Linked DNA regions of Homo sapiens: all the other regions are linked to region 1. The links are contacts of gene promoters, found by promoter capture Hi-C in blood cells and fetal thymus (Javierre and others, 2016). All regions are on one chromosome and are shown on one strand. Each heading gives the region's core, a stretch centred on a gene start or on the middle of the fragment in contact. The rest is flanking DNA. Distances are from core to core; before and after follow the strand shown. Region 1 holds the start of IGSF8 (immunoglobulin superfamily member 8). Region 2 holds the start of APOA2 (apolipoprotein A2). Region 3 holds the start of PPOX (protoporphyrinogen oxidase). Region 4 has its middle 5.7 kb from the start of TRV-CAC1-1. Region 5 has its middle 14 kb from the start of AIM2.

What was found. Contacts are between HindIII fragments. The CHiCAGO score rates a contact against its expected background, and 5 or more counts as called.
Region 2: a contact is called between the fragment with the promoter of APOA2 here and the fragment with the promoter of IGSF8 in region 1, in 5 of 17 cell types (total B cells, naive B cells, non-activated CD4 T cells and 2 more). The highest score is 6.7, in total B cells.
Region 3: a contact is called between the fragment with the promoter of PPOX here and the fragment with the promoter of IGSF8 in region 1, in 1 of 17 cell types (fetal thymus). The highest score is 6.1, in fetal thymus.
Region 4: a fragment that was not itself captured here is called in contact with the fragment with the promoter of IGSF8 in region 1 in 3 of 17 cell types (non-activated CD4 T cells, fetal thymus and total CD4 T cells); the score reaches 6.1 in non-activated CD4 T cells.
Region 5: a contact is called between a fragment that was not itself captured here and the fragment with the promoter of IGSF8 in region 1, in 1 of 17 cell types (neutrophils). The highest score is 6.1, in neutrophils.

What each region holds. Positions count from the first base shown.
Region 1 is chr1:160,097,281-160,099,980 of GRCh38, reverse strand. IGSF8 (immunoglobulin superfamily member 8) reads left to right here and starts at 1,362. Exons shown (of 7, transcript NM_052868.6): 1 at 1,362-1,572. The coding sequence starts at 1,509. RefSeq lists a silencer at 778-1,607 and an enhancer at 2,174-2,700. The HindIII fragment of the contact is 5,064 bases long and covers 1-2,700 here.
Region 2 is chr1:161,222,378-161,225,077 of GRCh38, reverse strand. It overlaps APOA2 (apolipoprotein A2), which reads left to right and starts at 1,450. Exons shown (of 4, transcript NM_001643.2): 1 at 1,450-1,483; 2 at 1,653-1,728; 3 at 2,028-2,160; 4 at 2,556-2,700. The coding sequence starts at 1,677. The coding sequence ends at 2,673. The HindIII fragment of the contact is 2,953 bases long and covers 540-2,700 here.
Region 3 is chr1:161,165,089-161,167,788 of GRCh38, reverse strand. PPOX (protoporphyrinogen oxidase) reads right to left here and starts at 1,363. Exons shown (of 13, transcript NM_001122764.3): 1 at 1,117-1,363; 2 at 855-949; 3 at 555-689; 4 at 303-418. The coding sequence starts at 941. It overlaps USP21 (ubiquitin specific peptidase 21), which reads right to left. Exons shown (of 14, transcript NM_001014443.3): 13 at 2,646-2,700; 14 at 2,066-2,432. The coding sequence ends at 2,342. RefSeq lists an enhancer at 1-308. The HindIII fragment of the contact is 28,112 bases long and covers 1-1,612 here.
Region 4 is chr1:161,392,753-161,395,452 of GRCh38, reverse strand. No RefSeq gene overlaps it. Among named protein-coding and RNA genes, the nearest start is that of TRV-CAC1-1, 5.7 kb to the left of the region's middle. The HindIII fragment of the contact is 1,933 bases long and covers 369-2,301 here.
Region 5 is chr1:159,089,099-159,091,814 of GRCh38, reverse strand. It overlaps a transcript of AIM2 not described here. Among named protein-coding and RNA genes, the nearest start is that of AIM2, 14 kb to the right of the region's middle. The HindIII fragment of the contact is 1,495 bases long and covers 535-2,029 here.

The sequences.
Region 1 (2,700 bases), core at 113-2,612:
TCACCTCCCACTGACAGCCACTCTGACAGCCTTGGCTTTGCAAACCTGGCCATCTCTTCTCCCCATTCTGGTCTCATCCTTCCTGCCCCTGCCCACTTCCCATCTTTACAGTTCAGGAAGAGACAGAGCACCTGGGAAGGGTGCCTCCTCCATTCTCCCACCTCCAGGGCAAGCCCCACTCTTCCTAGAACAGAGCAATGTTCATCTCTTCCCACTGTCACTGAACATAGAGACTCCTTCACCTAAATGCCAGGTCTAAACTAAGCCTCTTAGGAAGCAGTTCAAATAATAATTCAAAACCTAAAACAAAATAATCCTTATCTCCCATTTTGTGTTAGTTTCCTGTGCCAAACACTTTATGTACATTACCTATCATCACAATAACCCTTTGGGTGATGTGATCAACCTCAATTCAATTTGCAGAGGAGAAAACTGAAGTTGAAGGAGGTTAAACAACTGGGCTAGGATCACCCAACCCAGAAATGACGTCACATGGACGGCCCCCTCTCCTAATCCATTTTTCTTTTGGTTTTGCCCTCTGAGGGGGTGAAAAACAGGTCTCCAGTGACCTTCTGGATCCTGGAAGCGCCCTTCAGCTCAAACCCTTCGCATTCAGGAACTCCTGGCTTCCGCCAACCCCTACTTCAGCAGGGTTTGCAGCGAGGACTATGGCTCAGAGCAAATAACTGAATTCTAAATGCGTGGTCACAGTCACCTCGCCAATCCCAGGGACCCTGCACCCAACTCTCCAGGAAAGGCTGGCAGGTGCGGGGTGGAATGCGCTCTGTGCGAGGGTGGGTGGGAATTTCGATGCGCAGAGGTGCAGTTAGCTCACTCCTGCGGGGGCCTCGGGCGGAGCCAGGGCCAGGGGCGGGGCGAGGCCGGGGTCCAGGGCGGAGCCAGGATTGGAGGCTGACGTTAGCCCTGCGGGGACGGGGAAGGGGTGCGGCTTGGGACTGGGGCGGGGCCGGGGCCCGGGGAGGAGCCAGGATTGGAGTCCGACTGTAGTCCTGGTGGGGCGGGGCGGGGGAGGGGCCGGAACTGGGGCTGGGCCGAGGCCCGGGGCGGATCCAGGGCTGGAGTCTTGGCGGGGCGGGGCGGGGAGGGGCGGGGCCGGGGCGGGGCTGGGACTCGATGCGACTCAAAGGTGAGTTTCGAGGGGCGGGGCGGGGCCGGGGCCAGGTGCGGAGCAAAGGCCGGAGTCTGGCGGGGGTGGGGCAGGCAGGGCCAAGGCTGGGTCCGGGGCGGGGCGGGCCTAGACGGGGCGGTGGAAGGGGCGGTGCCGGGGCGGGCCGGGGCGAGAATGGTTTCAGAACTGCCGAGGGCTGGAGGGAAAGCAGCGGGAGGGGCGGAGGGAGGGGATTCGGCAGCTCCAGTTCAGCTCGCTCGGCGCACCCACGCCTCGCTGCCCCGCTTCCTGCCCTCAACCTGGGCATGCGCCCCCCACCCTTCCGGCCCCCCAGAACCCGCGCCATCCCCCGGAGCCTCCCCAGAGCTGGCCGCGCAGGATGGGCGCCCTCAGGCCCACGCTGCTGCCGCCTTCGCTGCCGCTGCTGCTGCTGCTAATGCTAGGTAAGCCAGGCCCCCGTTCCGGTTCCCGGCCCTGCCGGGCAGGTGCCTGCCATCCAGCACCCCCCTAGCATTTCGGGGCTCCTCACATCCTCCTCCGTCAGGGGTACCTCCAGCCTCCCCGGGGTCGGCGTCCAGCTGCGCTTTGTGGCTGTCCGCCGAGCCAGTCTTGGGAAGAGTGCAGGCTCCCCAGCTCTAAGCCAGGGACTGGGGCGTAGAGAGGACCCACTAAGGTGCTGCCCCAGGCACTGCTCGGCCTCCCGGGGCAGGCCACACATCTCAGCTAGCATACCCACGTACTGGGGTCGCTGCACCAAATGCTGCGACTCCTTTCTGCCCCACACTCAGCTCCAGGCCTGGCCTTGGGTGCCCGCCCTACGAGGGCAGTGCCTGCCCAGCTTCATAATTGCCCCAGAGTTGGCTGGAGGCCCAGAGGCCAGTTCTGCCCACGATCTTTGAAGTAAGTCTCTCCCAGTTGCGCTCCACGCACTTCATCAACTGGGGGCAGTTCCCTCTCTCACCCCCATCTCCACCCTGGGTTGGGTCCCTCTTTGCCCTTCTTCCTGTCTCCCAAATGGCACTTGGCTCTGCAGCCACCCATCAGTTTTCACACCGCTTAGTTCCAGCTTCCTTGCCTCAGGAGAAACCAGGTTCCATGGAGACTGATCCTGGGATCTCCAAGCACCTTGTGCCTGCTGTGGTGGGTGTTCATGGTGGGGTGTTCTGGGCCAATCTTGCATGGATGCATGGGGATAATGACAGTGGAATTGTTTTTGGCCTGAACTGGAGGGCTCCCTGTAGGAGGTGGTCTGGGGAAGAGTATGGCATGGAGACAGTGAAACTGCCAGTACAGATGTTGATGAGGCTGAAGCCCTTGAAATGAGAGTGAAGCGTGGGGGTGGGGATGGTGACTTCAGAGCTGCTGTCGTCAAGGCAGAGGCTGAAGGTAGCCCCAGCTGCCTGTTTCTAGACCAGAGCTCCACAGTGGCACCAAGCAAAGCCTTCCCCTGCTGCAGGTCCCTGGGCCCTGCAGGGTTAGGATGAGTCCTCTCCCTGGTCCCTGGGCAGGTGGCAGGAGGATGTACAGAGAGGAAGGCGCTGTGGGGCCTGGGTTGCCTAGCACTTGGTGTG
Region 2 (2,700 bases), core at 201-2,700, 1.1 Mb before region 1:
GGGTGATGAAATAATCTGTACAACAAATCCCCATGACACAAGTTTACGTGTGTAACAAACTTGCATATATAGGCCAGGGGCGGTGGCTGATGCCTGTAATCCTAGCACTTTGGGAGGCCGAGGCGGGCAGATCACCTGAGGTCGGGAGTTCAAGACCAGCCTGACCAACATGGGGAAACCCCGTCTCTACTAAAAGTACAAAATTACCCGGGCGTGGTGGCGCATGTCTGTAATCCCAGCTACTTGGGATGCTGAGGCAGGAGAATCCTTGAACCCGGGAGGTGGAGGTTGCAGTGAGCCGAGATCATGCCATTACGCTCCAGCCTGAGCAACAAGAGCAAAACTCCGTCTCAGGAAAACAAACAAAAAAACCTGCACATATACTTCTGAATTTAAAACAAAAGTTAAAAAACAAAGATTTCTTGGTCTCTGGTCACTACCTCCCTCATCAGCTTTGCGCCTCCACTGTCACCCTCAGGAATGTTCCACATACTCAGCGAGTATGCTTGGGGGGCAAAAGGGTGAAAGATACAAAAGCTTCTGATATCTATTTAACTGATTTCACCCAAATGCTTTGAACCTGGGAATGTACCTCTCCCCCTCCCCCACCCCCAACAGGAGTGAGACAAGGGCCAGGGCTATTGCCCCTGCTGACTCAATATTGGCTAATCACTGCCTAGAACTGATAAGGTGATCAAATGACCAGGTGCCTTCAACCTTTACCCTGGTAGAAGCCTCTTATTCACCTCTTTTCCTGCCAGAGCCCTCCATTGGGAGGGGACGGGCGGAAGCTGTTTTCTGAATTTGTTTTACTGGGGGTAGGGTATGTTCAGTGATCAGCATCCAGGTCATTCTGGGCTCTCCTGTTTTCTCCCCGTCTCATTACACATTAACTCAAAAACGGACAAGATCATTTACACTTGCCCTCTTACCCGACCCTCATTCCCCTAACCCCCATAGCCCTCAACCCTGTCCCTGATTTCAATTCCTTTCTCCTTTCTTCTGCTCCCCAATATCTCTCTGCCAAGTTGCAGTAAAGTGGGATAAGGTTGAGAGATGAGATCTACCCATAATGGAATAAAGACACCATGAGCTTTCCATGGTATGATGGGTTGATGGTATTCCATGGGTTGATATGTCAGAGCTTTCCAGAGAAATAACTTGGAATCCTGCTTCCTGTTGCACTCAAGTCCAAGGACCTCAGATCTCAAAAGAATGAACCTCAAATATACCTGAAGTGTACCCCCTTAGCCTCCACTAAGAGCTGTACCCCCTGCCTCTCACCCCATCACCATGAGTCTTCCATGTGCTTGTCCTCTCCTCCCCCATTTCTCCAACTTGTTTATCCTCACATAATCCCTGCCCCACTGGGCCCATCCATAGTCCCTGTCACCTGACAGGGGGTGGGTAAACAGACAGGTATATAGCCCCTTCCTCTCCAGCCAGGGCAGGCACAGACACCAAGGACAGAGACGCTGGCTAGGTAAGATAAGGAGGCAAGATGTGTGAGCAGCATCCAAAGAGGCCTGGGCTTCAGTTGTGGAGAGGGAGAGAGCCAGGTTGGAATGGGCAGCAGGTAGGGAGATCCCTGGGGAGGAGCTGAAGCCCATTTGGCTTCAGTGTCCCCCAAACCCCCACCACCCTCTTCCTAGGCCGCCCTCCCCACTGTTACCAACATGAAGCTGCTCGCAGCAACTGTGCTACTCCTCACCATCTGCAGCCTTGAAGGTGGGTGTGATATGGAGAGGGGGCCAAAAGGGAGAATGTGCTGGTGGTTATAGCTACCTATCTGCCTGTGCTCTTATATCCAGGTCTGGCAACCAAAGGGCTCAAAAGGAAGATCATTCCCTCTCTAAAGCCCAGAAAGCCCATCCAAAGATCTGGCTGGATACCTTTTTGGGGAGGGGGCAGAGAGCTGGGGTGGGTACTGGCAGAGGTATGGCAGGAGGCCAGGATTCACTGCTGTGGACCCAGCTGAAAAGAGTGTGTGTGTGTGTGTGTGTGTGTGTGTGTGTGTGTGTGGGCAGGAGCTTTGGTTCGGAGACAGGCAAAGGAGCCATGTGTGGAGAGCCTGGTTTCTCAGTACTTCCAGACCGTGACTGACTATGGCAAGGACCTGATGGAGAAGGTCAAGAGCCCAGAGCTTCAGGCCGAGGCCAAGTAAGTCTCAGGGCAAGGGGTTCAGGGGCTGTGGAACTGTGGAGAGAAAGAAGGGAAGATGAGAGGTCCCACAGAAGTCTGAACCCAGGGGTGGGGATTAGGGCAGATTAGGCTTAAATTGCAGAGAAAAAGTATTTCATCACCCAAAGATCCCACACGTCTCTTAGATAGAGAGGAACAGCAAGAACTGGGCCTTGAATTTCAGTCTCTAGAGTCTGTCCCTCTACCTAGCAAAGGTCTTGACTCTATTCCTACCTAGGGGCTTTGCCATGCGATGGACCAGGCACTAGAGTTTGGGGACCTGAGTCAGTCTGCTCTGACCTCCCACCACCACCAAGGCCCCTGCCAGTGCCTAGGGTCCCTCAGATTAAACTCTAATCCCCTCACCTATCCAGGTCTTACTTTGAAAAGTCAAAGGAGCAGCTGACACCCCTGATCAAGAAGGCTGGAACGGAACTGGTTAACTTCTTGAGCTATTTCGTGGAACTTGGAACACAGCCTGCCACCCAGTGAAGTGTCCAGACCATTGTCTTCCAACCC
Region 3 (2,700 bases), core at 114-2,613, 1.1 Mb before region 1:
GTTCAAGACCAGCCTGGCCAATATGGTGAAACCCCATCTCTACTAAAAATACAAAAACTAGCCAGACGTGGTGGTAGGCACCTGTAGTCCCAGCTACTCGGGAGGCTGAGGCAGGAGAATCGCTTGAACCCGAAAGGCGGAAGTTGCAGTGAGCCAAGATCGCGCCATTGCACTCCATCCTGGGCGAGAGCGATACTCCGTCTCAAAAAAAAAAAAAAAAAAAAAAAAAAAGAAAAGAAGAAAGAAATGGAAGGCATATGAGGATGAGGGCACAGTAAAAGGAGCGGAGGTGCTGGTGTTACCTGAGGCCAGTGGGTAGGGCATGCAGGGCACCGCCCACGTAGAGGAACCTGTTCTGGGCAGCTGGGTGGTCTCCCCGGACAGGCAGCACTTCTGAATCCAAGCCAAGCTCAGAAACCTGCTCTCCACATGCCCTCAGAAGAGGAGAAACTAAGGGAAGATCTGACCCACCAAACATACTTCCTCCCCTAAACTCTATTCCCCAATGGAAGCCCCCTCCACAACCTCTCCTAGACATCCCACAAGCCTCTCACCAGGAGCAAGGTCCGGGCCCCTAGGGCTCCCGCTGGCCTAATTCCCCGAGGTCCAAGCTCAAAGATAGCACCATTAGGGCCTCGAACGGAGCGAATCCAGCCTCCCAGACGCTCACTGCTCTCCACTAGGACCACCTGGCGACAAGAGGGAGAGACACTGCAGCACCGCCTGTAGCCGCCGGCGAGAGGTCAGGAGGGGAGGGGAAGAGGCATATTCAGAGGGCCAGGATCCATCTAGCTTTTGATGGAAATGGGAAGAGCATTAAATGAAGCTCCCTCTGGCACAAGTGGAGCACTCACCTTAGGGGGGCAGGGGGCCCGGCTCAGGTGGTAACTGGCGGCCAAGCCGCTGATGCCTCCGCCCAGCACGACCACGGTCCGGCCCATGCGGAAACCTGGGGGAAAGGGGGCGATATGGACAGGCAGACCGGGGACAACCTGCGCTCCAGAAGCCCCGCCGGTTTTGAGTTCTATCCCGGCCACTCACTGCTTTAGGGGAAACTAAGTGTGCACGGATGGGCTGGTGGAACAGCGAGGTCCCCGTCCAGGGGCCAGGACTCACCCACAATAGGTAGGGATGAGAGAAAATGAGGGAGAAGGAGATCGAGGTCCTAAGACCGTACCCCGCCGGCGCTCTGCTGGGTGCAGATAAGGGCCACACCCTCGCTATCGGCCCTCGCAGGGCTCGGGCGGCGGGCAGTACGCCTGAGTTCTGAGGTGCTCTGCTTGCCACACCTCTGTAGGCCAACAAGTGCTTCAAATCCGCTACTCCCACCCCCAGCCTTTTCGGTCTCTCCTACGCTCCGTCCACTCTGTTCTCGCGGCACGCGCCTAACCCTACCTCTCCTACATCTGGATTGGCGGGACTTGGAAGGCCCCGGATCACGTTCACCAATAAAACATTGAACTGGCAGAGGCGGAGCGACGGCAGCTGTAAGAGCTGGAGGTTAACCGTGTTAGCGCCGAGCTGGGAGTGAGCGGCCGTACCCGTCACTGCCCTCCTCAGGACCGAGGCGGCGAGCGCTTAATGCTGGAGTTAGCGTTCCCCAGCACAAGCTTACCAGGTCCAGCTAGGGTGACAACCCTAGAGGGAAGGCCGCAGGAGCTTTGGTCGTAGGGAGAATAGATAGGGACACTTAAGGCCAGTCCACGGGGAGGCGGCTCCATAAACAGCTCCTTGATGTTAGCAACAGACCGGGCCTACGGGAGCTAGGGCCGCCCGGCAACGTACCCAGTGTTTGTCAACAGTGGCACTCCCCCATCGCCGACCAAACCAGTCGCCCCAGAGCCTGCACGCAGCCTCACTCAAGTATGCCTTTCCTCTTTTCCTCCCAGTACATAACCTTCACTGCTGGGGGACACAGGTCCGGGTCCAGCACCATCCCCGAAACCTTCCCCCTCGGCTCTGAGAGCGCCCCCACCTGTTAGAGAGGGAACTTGGGTCCCAAGAAGACTCCAATTTGGCTCAGTTCTCTATCACCCCCTAAGCAAAAATACAAATAAGCACATCATTTTTTCTTAATAAATTTATTCACAAAAAGTGATATTGCAGAGGGTCTGGGGGCTGTACATGGGCAGGGGCTTGGTGAGCTTTGTACATGGGGCTGGGAGACAAGGGAGCCTCCAGGTGGAAGGGTATTTTTTAATAAAAAAAATAATGGAGCTACAACCACCCCCTCCCCCCTCCCCGATTAAAAAGACACAAAAATAGACGTCTCTGAGGTAAACGGGGAGCCTGGGGCTTAAGGGTGTTTAAAGGGCTTCACAGGTGCCAGAGCTTAGAGGTGTCACAGGCACCGGGGTGGCTCCTGCATCAGTTGGTAGAACAGCACGTAGCCCTCGCTGGATGCCACCTGGTTTTCACTGACAGGGGAGACACTAGGAAAAAAGGAGATCGGGAAAGGGTTGTGGTCATTCCTGTTTACTCCCTTCTCCCTACAAGACCGAACCTCAGAGCATCCAGGAAATGATCAGGCAAGACCTCCACCTCTCCTTTCACCTGGCACTCTGCTCTCCTGGAGCTTCATAGAAGGGGAGGGTGTCAGGGCTGAGTGGGAATGGGGCAGGATGTAAATAGGAGGCTATTCTCACCGAGAGTCATTGTAGACATGCCAACCAGTCTGGCACCGGCACAGGGCTGTGTAGT
Region 4 (2,700 bases), core at 86-2,585, 1.3 Mb before region 1:
GGCAAGAGGATGGCTTGAGCCCAGGCGGTCTGATCACTTGAGCCCAGGAGTTCAAGACTAGCCTGGGCAACATGGCAAAACCCAGGCTCTACCAAAAACAGAAAAATTATCCAGATGTGGTGGCTCATACCTGTGGTCCTAGCTACTTGGGAGGCTGAGTTGGGAGGATTGCTTGAGCCTGGAGGCAGAAGTTTCAGTGAGCCATGATCGTGCTGATACAGGAGATAGAAATTATTTAGGAGATAGTGAGGGCAGAAGAGTCCTCAGTAGAATTTCTTTGCTAACAAAAAAGCAGCCCCCAAAATCATTTCTAAGAAAGAGCAGCCTGAAAAATTGAGCTGCAAACATAGGTAAGCAAGCTGGAAGCTTGCATGGGGGAATGCTGGCAGCTGTGCCAATAGAAAAGGGGTAACTGGGGGCCAGGCATGTCCACCATGGAGGCTCCATCTTCCCTTTTTTTGTTACCACATGTACAGTAATAAAGAAATGGGCAACATGGTGCAGCTCAGGCAGTGAACCTGCCTGCATAATCAAAGATTGGGGTGGAGGAGGCCAGAGATTCCCATAGTATACAAATAGCACACCTGGTCAGACCAGTTTTTTGCATGCTATGTAGATCAGACTCTGCCTCCCACCAGCTCATCTAAAAACCCCCTGAATTTCACCACGGGTCTGGCAACCCATTTTTCCAGGACCCCTTTCTGCAGCAGAGAGCTATTCTCTTTCTTTCGTCTATTAAACTTCCACTCTCAACCTCACTCTTTGTGTGTCTGCATCCTTATTCTTGGTGGCTGTGAGACAACGAACCTCGGATGTTACTCCAGATAACAAGGCCGTTTCAGTGCCACTGCACTCCAGCCTGGGCAACAGAGTGACACCCTGTCTCAAACAAAAAACAAATCCCTGTCTTCATAGAGTTTACATCCTAGTTTGTGAGGCAGATAATAAGATAAAATATATGGTTTGTGTGATATTGTGAAGAAGTATACATTTGGTCTTTGTCCTTAGTTCCTAACACAGATCTAAAACACTTGTAATTTCCTGAGTAATAGGGGTGAGAGGAGTGTCTTTTGTTATCCATAGTAAGCCCCTTCCAAGCACACCTGAGTTTATACTAATGAGGTGATTCCTAGAAGATGGGGGCCAGTTTCCAGAGAAACCAACCAGATGATCAGAGGGCTGGAACTTTCAGCTCCATCGCCAACCTCTGGGGAGGAGAAAGGGGCTGGAGATTGACTCCAATGGTCAATGATTTCATCAATTCTGTCTAAGTAATGGAACCTATGTTCAAACCCTAAACAACAGGGTTCCAAGAGTTTCTGGCTTAGTGAACACACTGTGGTGCTGGGAAGATGGCAAGCCTAAATAGAGCATGGATGCTCCAAGCCCTCACCCATACTTGCCCTCGGTGCATCTTCCATTTGGCTGTCCATCTGTAAACTTTGTCATATTCTTTATTTTTTTATTATTATTATTGCAGACAGAGTCTCACTCGTTTTCCAGGCTGGAGTGCAGTGGCACGATTTCAGCTCACTGCAACCTCCACCTCCTCAGTTCAGGCGATTCTCTCAGCCTCCCCAGTAGCTGGGATTACAGCGCCTGCCACTACACCCAGCCAATTTTTGTATTTTTAGTAGAGATGGAGTTTCATCATGTTGGCCAGGCTGGTCTTGAACTCCTGACCTCTCAGGTGATCCACCCACCTCAGCCTCCCAAAGTGCTGGGATTACAAGCATGAGCCACTGCGCCCGGCCTTGTCATATTCTTTATAATAAACCGGTAAATGTAAGTAAATGTCTCCCTGAGTTTGTGAGCCATTATGGCAAATTATCAAACAAGAGGAGGGTGTTGGGAAAGCCCCAGTTGATAGCCAATTGGTGAGAAGTACAGATGAGAATCTGGAACTTGTGATTGACATCTGAAGTTAGGAGCAGTCTTGTGAGCCTGAGTCCTTAACCTGTGGGAACTTCATTAATTCCAGGTAATTAGTGCCAGACTTGAGTTAGATGGGAGGACACACAATTGGTGACCATTGAGAACTGGAGAATTGCTTGGTGTGGAAAACCCACACATTTGATGTCAAAAGTGTGTGGGCAGAGGAAACAGTTTTTATTTAGTATGTCAGATGTGACAAGTGCTAAAGAGAAATAAAGAGGGAAACAGAAGATGAAATATCTGGGTGTCTTTGTATGTGGAATTTTAGATAGTGTGGCCAAGGCAGGCCCCCTGAGAAGTAACTTTTGTGTTAAGACCTAAAGGAAGTGAGGGAACTAGCCATGTAGACTATCTAGAGGACAAGCTTCCAGGCTGAGGGGCTACAAAGTGCAAAGGTTCTGTGGCAGCAGCAAGCTGTTGTGTCCCAGAAACAGCAAAAACCAGTGTAGCCAGATCAGAGTAAGCTAGGAGGAGGTGAAGGGTCTTGTGGAACACAGCAAGGATTTTGGCTTTCACTTTGCATGATGGGATCCTGGGGAAATGCATTTCCCTGCAAGTACAACAGGGAGAGTTAGGGCAGGGAATGGATCTCAGAGCAAGAAATATAAATGTGGTACATGTGGTTTCACTGGGGCTTCTTGATGGTATGGGAGAGGGAAACTACAGCCAAAGAGCAGCAAGAAAGGAATAACTACAGTTCCCGTGGTGGCCCTGCTTTCTCCTCTGTTCTGATCCCAAAGTGGTTGATTCCTTCCCCTCACCCTT
Region 5 (2,716 bases), core at 33-2,532, 1.0 Mb after region 1:
CTTTTCAATAGAGAGGGACGAAGCCACCATTTTTGCTTTGGCAATTGCTGGTGTGTCAGTGAACACACACACACTCATAACATTTGTTACCACATCCTTTATACATCACCCCCTAAGTTACTCTCCAAATACCTTCCCCCAAGGGCATCCAGAGGGCAGGACTTCAGCTGGCTGCCTTGATTCATCCCATCCTACAGATTGCTGTCAACACAAGAGATGATCAGGATAATGTAACGATTGCACTTTGTAAGTATATAATTTTGTTCATTGTCACCAGTTACATGCTGGCCATCCTCAAGCATATAAGATAGTCTTGTAACTTGTGAATCTTCAGAAATCAGAGGAGTTTCTCCTCCTCTTCACTGCTGACAGTAGTCAAAAGGGACCCAGCCTAGAATAAGTAAAGGGAAAGGCAGAACCTGCCAAAGCACGTCGTGACAAGCATGTCATTGTGGACTGACTCTACCCAGCATTTTTTCAGTGGTTGTAATGCCACACATGGCTTTAAGGTATTAATAGGATTGGACACAAGCTTTTCTGTCTTCTACACTTATAAGACCAAGAATGGCTAAATATAAAAAATGTAACCTTTATCCTATCATTCTCTTTTCTAGCTGTATTATTTGTTACTTTATTAAGTAATGTTTAAAGTTATTTGTATTAATTATTTTTACCATTCTCAGGACCATACAAGCCAATTTCTACAAGACTAGCATTAGGATTGAGGTTTCTCATTTAATGGTGATTCATCTTTCCCACATACAGCCTGCCCCTTCATTCTGATGTTTCCATTTCAGCAAGAGACTGAAAGGGAAAGGAGGTCAATAGGAAGTTACTCAGGAAGAAGAATACCAGGAGGGAGTGATGGTGCTGAACACAAGGGAGCCATTTGAGGTGGAATCTTTGAAACTCAGACACTTTATGCTAATGTGGTAGAGGTTGCTTAGGGAAAGTCTTTAGCATCAATGTAAAAGACAATTTTAACTCAAAGAACGATCAAAAATTATTTCCCTGATGGTTTGCTAGAGTCAAAACATGCCTTACACATGTTTGATGCTGACTCTGACAGAGGGATCTGTGTCTCCAGTTACCATGTCAGGAGACTAGACAAACAGCTCATGGTAAAAAATAAAAGACAAATGAATAACCTCCCAAACACAACCTTGTAGGAAAAATAGTAAGAGTTTTCACCTTAAGGTAAAGTTTTGGACTTGGTCTGAAGTGTCCATAGAAGGCATTTAAATAAACATTTTTATTTAGAGATAGAAACAAAAACAAAAATTGAAAGGCATGGAATTTTAGTGGCGTGATGACAATTACAATGACAAAATTATGAAATGTGAAGCAGTCACACGCTTTCTAGCAGTATGCGAGAGAGACTGATTCATGGACTTTAAATTCATGTATTATTTTTACATTCTGGTATATTTTTGCACTTTATAGTCACATCTTTTTCTGGTGTATGTATCTTTACACTGCATTCCTGCACTTTATTTAAAGTGACAGTATTTGTGAATATGACTGAAGTTAAGAGTTGAATGTTGTCTTATGTTGGGTCCCCAAGAAACAGACTGTTAGATTTGCCTGCAAGAAGTTTATTAGAGGGTGCTCTTGGGAACACCTATAAAGGAGAGAGGGAAACTGGGTTGGGCGGAGGGAGAAGTTAAATTGCAGTGAGGGCTGCAGCCAATCCCCCTGGGAACCCTAGAGCTGGGATGGCCTCTAGTTATGCCTAAGTGAGGCAAGAAGGCTGTGACCTTGAACCTCCTCATAGACCCTAAATCCTTGGCTTCAGGCTTTCTCCATGGAAGGATGCAACCTTGGGGAAGGCAGTTCCCTTCAGCATAGGGCAGTCCTGGAACACAGACTCAGGTGTCAGCTGTAACACTTCTAGCAGCTGGGAAAATAGGCACTTTGGTTGTCTGGTTGAAGGGTCTAGGGTCCAGTTACTGAAAACAAATAGTTACTGAACTAAAAACCGATAGAATAGGTAGGGCAGAGATGAAAGAGCAGTGATTTATGGAAAGCTTAGAAGAATAACTTCGTCGTAGGAAACCATGTGTATATTCTTATGATTGTGTGATTCTGGGACTCAGGGTACATGTTTTGAGTGGCCATTTTTGTTTTGACTGGTACATAATTTAAAGAACTAAGCAGAGTGATCCTGTGTTTGTTTGTTTGGTTTTGCATTCAGCTATCCTGAGAGTAAAGGAGTGAAACTAGGAAAGAAACTTCTTAAGGGAGAACCAGATAGTGAAACTAAGCAGGGGAGCCTGTAGGTAAGGGGGTTGAACAAACAATCCAACACAGGGGCTTCTTTAAGCAAGTGACATGCTTTATGTCTACCTTCTGTGCTTCTATCCTGATCTACCTTGGTTTTTATCCTTTTGGTTATGGAGTTGAACTTCTTCATCTTGCCACCAGGAGGCAGTGTTTTTTAGTGCTTAGGAGGATGTGCTTTGGCTACACCAGATGAAGTTCAAATCTTATTTCTACCATTCACTAATTGTATGACCTTAGTCCATTCACAAACACCGCTAAGCCTCTATTTTCTCATCTATAAAATAAGAATAATGACGGTACTCACTTTGCAGGATTGTTAGGAATATTAAATTGAAATAATGCTTATAAGCACCTAGGTCAGAAGCTCACAGCTCGTCTCACTTGCCAGAAATGGTCTCTTTTTCCATCTCATACAAATGACAGTCCTTAACCA